Linked DNA regions of Homo sapiens: region 2 is linked to region 1. Evidence: promoter capture Hi-C in human tissues and cell types (Jung and others, 2019). All regions are on one chromosome and are shown on one strand. Each heading gives the region's core, a stretch centred on a gene start or on the middle of the fragment in contact. The rest is flanking DNA. Distances are from core to core; before and after follow the strand shown.

What was found. Contacts are between HindIII fragments. The study calls those that stand out against the background at their distance.
Region 2: a contact is called between the fragment with the promoter of MRPL1 here and the fragment with the promoter of PAQR3 in region 1, in 1 of the 25 tissues and cell types used here (small bowel).

The regions. Positions count from the first base shown.
Region 1 is chr4:78,937,507-78,941,448 of GRCh38, reverse strand. PAQR3 (progestin and adipoQ receptor family member 3) reads left to right here and starts at 2,011. Exons shown (of 6, transcript NM_001040202.2): 1 at 2,011-2,409. The coding sequence starts at 2,225. RefSeq lists silencers at 1,832-2,321, 2,412-2,481. The HindIII fragment of the contact is 22,278 bases long and covers 1-3,942 here.
Region 2 is chr4:77,861,132-77,865,223 of GRCh38, reverse strand. It overlaps MRPL1 (mitochondrial ribosomal protein L1), which reads right to left and starts at 2,394. Exons shown (of 9, transcript NM_020236.4): 1 at 2,345-2,394. The coding sequence starts at 2,375. RefSeq lists enhancers at 1,847-1,946, 2,307-2,706. The HindIII fragment of the contact is 8,859 bases long and covers 1-4,092 here.

The sequences.
Region 1 (3,942 bases), core at 762-3,261:
GGAAGGCCTCAAAACTAAGGTCTCTCTGAACTTCTTTCCGTCCTCCTTTCTTCCTTTTCCTGTTCTTCCCAAGTGGGTCTTACAACCTAGAATTTCTCTCCCTAAAGGAAGCCATAAAACCTAGTAAGGGGCCGGGCGTGGTGGCTCACGCCTGTAATCTCAGCACTTTGGGAGGCTGAGGCAGGCATATTGTTTGAGGTCAGGAGTTCAAGGGCAGCCTGTCCAACATGGTGAAACCCCATCTCTACGAAAAGTACAAAAATTAGCCGGGCATGGTGGTGGGTGCCTGTAGTCCCAGCTACTCGGGAGGATGAGGCAGGAGAATTGCTTGTACCCGGGAGGTGGAGATTGCGTGACCCGAGATTGTGCCACTGCACTCCAGCCTGGGCTTCAGAGTGAGACTCTGTCTTCCCCCAACAACAACAACAACAAAAAATCTAGTAAGGTTACTTTCTGACTGTCCCTGCCTTTCCGTGGTCACAAAGGAGTTCTGACTTACCTCACCTGAAACTAGGTCATAAAACCCTCATTCTAGAGAGTTCCTGCCCCATACTCTGAGGCCAAGAATTTGAATGAACTGGCCTTGCTAGCTAGGATCCCCCCTCAGTTTATTATCATTAGATGATGCCCCCTTTCAATCATGTTTCTCCACAACTATCCACTCCTTTCATCAGACTTAGCATAAAAAGCCCATTTTTTCCTGGGTCTTTGTGTCTTCATTTCTGAAGACTCCTCTGTCACATAAAACTGTGTTAAATGAATTTATTATCCCTTTTCTTGTTAATTTTTATTATTTATTTTTTGAGACAAAGTCTCGCTTTGTCACCCAGACTGGAGTGCAGTGGCACAAACATGGCTCACTGCAGCCTCGACCTCCCAGGCTCAAGCAACCCTCTCACTTCAGCCCAGAATAGTTTGGGACTACAGGCGCCCATCACCACACCCGACTAATTTTTGTTTTTTGTTTGTTTGGTTGGTTTTTTTTGTAGCGACAGCGTCTCACTATGTTACCCAGGCTGGTCTCCAACTCCTGGGCATAAGCAATCCGCCTGCCTCGGCCTTCCAAAATGTTGGGATTACAGGCATGAGCCACCTGCGCCTGGCTTCTCTTAATTTTTTTCATAGGAATGTCAGCTGTGAACCTTGTGATAAGTGAGGACAAGATATTTTTCTTGCCCTTACAATGCCAAACAATGGACTAAGCGTTCTATTATACACATACGGTACTCAAACTGATGTTTTGCCCTGTTGCCATTATAAGTAAACACTTGCATTACAGTAAATAGCCAGAAACAAAGCTGCAACACTTCCTGTAAACGCTACTATAGCCGCACTCCACAGGATTTTTTAATATGTTCTATATTATTCAGTTAAGTAGATATTCTCATTTCCATTGTGATTTCTTCATCAGCCCTTGAAATATTTGGTGTATTGCTCCTATTCCAGACGTGGAGACTTTTAGTTTTCTTGTTACTCTAGTTTAATTCTACTGTGATCAGAGAACATAACGCTGAAAGGGGTCGGAGTTTTGAATGCACGGGGGCTTTCCTTTATGGCTCAGGATGTGCTCGATGCTGGTGTATGTTCCACGTGCATCAGGTTTCCTCTCTTTCCAATTATCGTGCTAAGAGCTGACTTCAGCTTAGAAATCCTCAAAGTCCCTTCTGACACTAAGTGTGTGTAATTCCAAGCATAAACTAAACGGTAATTACCTCGAACTTTTCTTCCTGTTAACTCTTTTCCTCTTGATTTTTCAAAATGCAGCAACTATTACTTCTAATAAAAAAACAGAAAAAGAAAAAAAATCCACTTGTATTCGCCTGTAGCTCTGTGCTTTCGGCTCTTCTCATATGCAAACGAAGACCCCAGGCGCCGCCAAAACACAGCGTGAGAGACGCCCGGGAGCCCGGGCCGCCGCCAGCGCACGCTCGAGCACACCCGGGCGCGCCCCAGCACCCTGCCCCTCCCAGCTAGGGCTGAGGGGCGGGGCCGCCGCGGCGCGCTGACGTCAGAGGAGGCTGCGACGCTGCCGGGTCCGCCGCGGCGCTGGCGGCAGTGGCCGGTGTGAGCGCAGAGCCGGGCCCTGGGCAGCAGCGGCAGCGCGGTAGGACCTCGCGCAGCGTCCGCGGGCTCCGGGGCGGGGGCGCCAGCGGCGAAGCCCCCTCCCCGGGGAGGCGGGACCTGGGGGAGCTCCCGAGCCGGGGAGCGGCGGCGGCCGGGAACGATGCATCAGAAGCTGCTGAAGAGCGCGCATTACATCGAGCTGGGCAGCTACCAGTACTGGCCGGTCCTGGTGCCCCGTGGCATCCGCCTGTACACCTACGAGCAGATCCCCGGGTCCCTCAAGGACAACCCGTACATCACCGACGGCTACCGGGCCTACCTGCCGTCCAGGCTGTGTATCAAAAGGTACGGTCTGGCTGCCTCCGCCTGGAGTGCCCCCTTCTCTCACCTACACCCTTTTTGTCTGGTCCCCCTTCTGCTTTCCCCGCCTTTCTGCTTGCCCATCATTTCCTCGCCGCCCCATCCTTTTCATCCCTTTTTGCCGCCTCTCCTCCCCCGTTATCTCCCCTTACCTGGCCGGGGTACTTGGTCCACGGAATAATCATGATAGTAACAGTGATCATAATTACAGCTCTCCTATGACGCTTTGCTCTTTACAAAGGGCTTTTACATCCTTTATTCGGTTTGTTCGGCTCATTGAGATATATATTGAAATGGGGCTGAGCCATATTTGCCCGGTGTATACCTTTCTTTTTAGAGCAACACTGTGGGAATTCAGTAGCTTTGGGCCAGATAAGTGCCTGTATAATAGGAAACAAGTTAACATATACACCCGAGATTTATTCATTTGGCAAATACTTATGGAGCCCATGCAGAAAAAAAAGCAAACATGGCCCTTGTTTTCATGAAGCTACTAAGGTGTAGCCTGGGTAACAGACATTAAATAGATAATTACACAATTACATAATAACCATTGTGGAAAAAATGCTGTGTAGGAAAAGTACTGTGGTAAAGAGAGCTCATAACGGGCACCCAGTCTCCACTAGAGCACCACAGAAGCATCTCTAAGAAAGAAATTTCTTTATCATTTTAAACCTTTAAAACCACAGTCCCTTGAAAATCCGTGTTTTAAAAAAACAAAACTGAAAAATAACTATTCTAGTTCTTGGAGTAACTGTCCAAACTTACTACCTGTACTAAAATACAGGACCTCTGCTTCAGGAGAATTAAGATACAGGTGTTGGTTAGCTCCAGGTCGCTGTAGTGGCAAACCCTAGTGCCAGAATGTGGGCTGTTGAATTGCTCAAGCGGCAACCACATGTCTGATTCTTGATTTTTCCAGCATTGTCTTTTCCTGCCCTTCTTTCCTTTTGTCCTGCCATGAAAGTGTTTCTGTGACTCATGGTCACAAGGTGACATCACTGCCCATCCCTACTTGGCTTGAATGGATGGCCCTTAGGATTCACAACTTGAAGCGTAATTACCGTTTTCCTCCCCAGTGCCTCCTGTGCATGAGTAAATTACACAGCTGAGTTCTGCTGTGGATCTGGAGTTCCACAAGAATAGGGCAAGCAGTGAATTGCCTTAAATATTTTCTACTCAACTAGCAGTGGTCTTCTGCGTTCTGATGTTAGGGTCCAAATCTCATGGAGTGGAAAATTAAGTATAGAGCATTAGCTCTTGAGCTATTGAGTCAAAGACTTTAGTATCCAAATCTGCCACTTAACAGCTCTGAGACCTGGAGCAAAATGTAACCTCACTGAGCCTCATTATACCCACATATAAAAATGAGGGTAATCACAGTATCTGCTTCCAGAGGTAAAAAAAGATTCAGTAAGATTCTGTGTGTGAAATGCTATACATGGCCTGGAACCTAATAAGCCGTCAATAAATGGTGATTGTTGTCATCACCAGTGGTTGTGAAGCTGAACAGATGAT
Region 2 (4,092 bases), core at 1,145-3,644, 1.1 Mb after region 1:
AAATTTGATAACCATTAAGGTATAGACAATAATCGGCTGGGCATGGTGGCTCATGCCTGTAATCCCAGCACTTTGGGAGGCAGAGGTGAGTGGATCACTTGAGATCAGGAGTTCGAGACCAGCCTGGCCAACATGGTGAAACCCCACCTCTACTAAAAATACAAAAATTAGCCGGGCATGGTGGCACGCGCCTGTAATCCCAGCTACTTGGGAGGCTGAGGCACAAGAATTGCTTGAACCCGGGAGGCAGAGGTTGCATGAGCCAAGATCGTGCCACTGCACTCCAGCCTGGGTGACAGAGCAAGATTCCTTCTCAAAAAAAAAAAAAAAAAAGATATACACAATAATTGGCCATCCATTTCTCCAACAGCCAGGAAGAATGCTGGTATTGAGGCTAATACCTAAAAAGAACAGTAGCTACCGTGGCTTCCAGTGCTTTAATGAACCTCCGATGTGGGGCCTTCTGGCAAAACATTTGCAATTTCATATTGTTGAAGCATTCATTGTATCCCTGGGGGTTTTCGCTATGTTCGCGGTGGCTGAGCCAAGAAAGAAGGCATGTGTCGACTCCTACAGAAATGATGATTCCATAAAAGATTTTGAGGAGATGAGGAAAACGTATATTTCAGAGCACAAAGTGATTTTGCAATATAAAGAATTTCTTTGGGTTGAATTACCTAAAAGTTTGTCACTGACCTGTGTTCTTGAACTATGAAATGTGAAAGTTTCTCCTGATAAGTAAACAATTAAAAAAATAAAAAAGATAGACAATAATCAAAGCCACAAACTTTGGATGAGCTAACCAAGGAGTGAATTTAGATACAGAAGAGATGAGAATGAAGGATGGAACCCTGGCTTCCAGAACACTCCAAAGTAAAGAGGCTGGGGAGAGGAAGAGGAACCAGCCAAGTAATGTGAGAAAAAATGACACATGAAATAGGAAGACAATTAACAGAGAGATATCCTAGAAGCCAAGAGAAGAAAATGTGACAAGAAAATTATAATATTCAGGTATTTTTGGTTTCTTTGGATTTGTGTAACATAACGATTTCTGTCATACATGAAGATGCCTTCAACCTCCTTTCAGAAATAATATACATTTTGGTTTGCTCACAAAGTAGGCATCAGGGTCTGTTGTTATCTCTTGTCACCCCTAATTTTTGAGCAATAACTCTCTTGACACAGTTTTCCTAAAAAGAAACTCAAAAAAAAAAAAAAAAAAACTGTGATGCAGTGTTAAATATACATGTATCACTGACCTAGGATTGCAAGCTTCAGTACTTCCTCTGCCATTTACTAGTTATATGAACTTGGCCACATATCTAATAAGTTCAGTTTCTTCCTCTGTAAAATGGGGGTAATGCTGGCTACTGCTTCTACCTAAAGACCTACCTAAATTAAACAATATATATCACTGGACTTCAAAAACACAAAATAAAAGCAAAAAGCGTTGCACAGGCCGGGCGCAGTGCCTCACGCCTGTAATCCCAGCACTTTGAGAGGCCGAGGAGGGCGGATCACCTGCGATTAGGAGTGCAAGACTAGCCTGGTCAACATGGTGAAACCCTGTCTCTACTACAAATACAAAAATTAGCCAGGCATGGTGGCACACGCCTGTAGTCTCTGCTACTCGGGAGGCCGAGGCAGGAGAATCGCTTGAACCTGGGAGACGGAGGTTGCAGTGAGCTGAGATCGCACCACAGCACTCCCAGCCTGGGTGGCAGAGCGAGACTGCCGTCTCAAAAAAAAAAAAAAAAAAAAATTGTTGCACAAGAAAGGGCTGTCATCGTAGACAAAAAGTTGAAATTATTAAGATGAAAAGAGGCGCTACCAAGAGGTACTACAGAATTAGCCCCCTCAAATGATAAACGTTGATCCAAATTAGACCACCTATGGAAGTTTAAGAACTGGAATCGCCTATAACGAAGTAATTCCGAAAGCACCAAAAAGCACTTTGAAAATTGCTCTAATTTACAGACTTAAGCCACTCAAATACATCATCTTTCCCTTATCAGAACTCACCTCACTTATCACACTCCACTACCCGCAGCCCACACCCCAGTATCAGAGACGACCCAGTCCTTGCCATGCCCATAGGTGGCTGGAGGGCGCTCGATGTACGTCCCGCTCCCACTCCCTCCCTCAGGGTGGACGTCTCCAGAATGGAGTGAAACCCTTCATAAGGTCACTTTTAAGTAGTAATGACCCACCCTCTGAAAAACCTAGAGACCAGAAACAGCACGAGGCATTTTCAGCACCCAGAGCAGAATCCGCCTTGCACTCTGCTGCAACCAGAGACTCGGTGCCAGAGCCATTTCCCCTGCAAGACAACCCCTCGCCTTACCTCTACCCATGCACCTTACGGCCGCCGCCATGTTGGGCACTCCGGATTGCGTTCACGAAATTGTTCCTACGTTTCTACTGGGAAGAATTAAAAAAAGGTTCCGTTCTAGAATCCGCAAAGAGGGAAGGAGTTAAAAAGAGAAAGAGGAACGGGGCGGGGACCAAAATGAGCTTTGCTGCCGGCGTGGCGGTGTTACTGTTAGTCCTCCGTGTTGCCCAGGACCCTGTGTGTTTCGTGGTTCCGGTATGGCTGGTTAACCACCTTCGGGAAAATACGATCCTGTTGGCGATGCTGTGATTATTTTAATCCTTCCTTCTTATTCTTTTTCTTTTTTGATCCTGCAAGTGTACTCAGAGCGACAATTTTAACAGGCTGTGAGAGTACTTAATACCCAACGTAAAATCTTGAAAAACAGGAACCCTGAAACCCACTAGCTTCCTCCGCCACTTTTCCGGCCTTGGAAAGACTTATTTTAAAAATTCTCTAGGCGTTTTCGCCGCTACCCGAGGGAGGTGTCCAACTCACTGACAAACTTTTTTTGCTAATTGTCAAACTTTCTGTCAGCGCAAGATCAACCTTAGCTTTAAAATCTTAAATTAATCTCTACATTTACCCCCTGCTGGCAAGCGAGTAGACTTACCATTAGGATCAATTGAATAATAATACTTGACATTTATAAAACATTTCTAGTTTTAAAATGGCAGCTCCAAGACCCACGCACAAGTTATTCTGATAGGAAAAAAAAACAAAAACAAAACAGAATGAGTGTACTTTCCATTACGTCACAGCTGTCGGTGTGGTTTATCTAAAACAAATCTGATTACGGATTTTATCACTTCCCAGCTTACCTCCCCCACAACACACACACACACACACACACACACACACACACACACACGTTTCTCACCTCCATAACTTGGTTCATTCTATCTTCTCTGCTTCGTGTGTACCGTACCCTACATCACCTAGGTAACTTTTTAAAGATTTCGCCTCAGGCTGTGTTTCTTTTAAACAGTTTTGAGATATAATTTACATAGCATACAATCTACCAATTTAAATTGTACAATTAAATGGTTTTTAGTGTACTCAAAGAGTTGTGCAGCCATCACCACAATATATCAGTTCTTGTCACCAGTCTGAGCTTTTTATGGGTAGAAACCATCTTACTCATTTTTGTAACCTCAGCACATACTTCAGTGCCAGGCCCATAGGAGGCTCTCAGTAAATGTTTGCTGAATAAATGAATATATGCATACATGAATTAGTGACTCAATTAGAATGGCAAGCCTGCAAAATTAACTTGCTTCAATGAAGCTGCCCACAGGCAGATGAACTGGATCAAAGGCATTTCCCAGATGCTTTATTCATATTTATACATAGTACTCATCTACATGAAAAAATAAGATTTCTAATGTATTGCCTTGTCTTGTTAACACCTAAGCAGTTACTTCAAAGATTCTATAACAATTTGTGACTTATGCAAAAAAATCGAAGAACTTAAATCTATCTTTGTAAACTTTTCCTTCTCTCCCTCGCTCCCTCTCATCCTCCCTTCTTTTCACAAATATATGAGTGCCTGCCATGTGTCAAGCAGTGTACTTGGCTATGCATAAATGAAAAAAACTAATTCAATTTGAGAGTAAGTACCAGAATTGGAGCAAGTTTACCCAGTCAATTTCAGAGAAAAACAAACACTCAGATTAGAGGTGCTGGTCCTTAGACCCTATATCTGTTTCCTTTCCACAGTC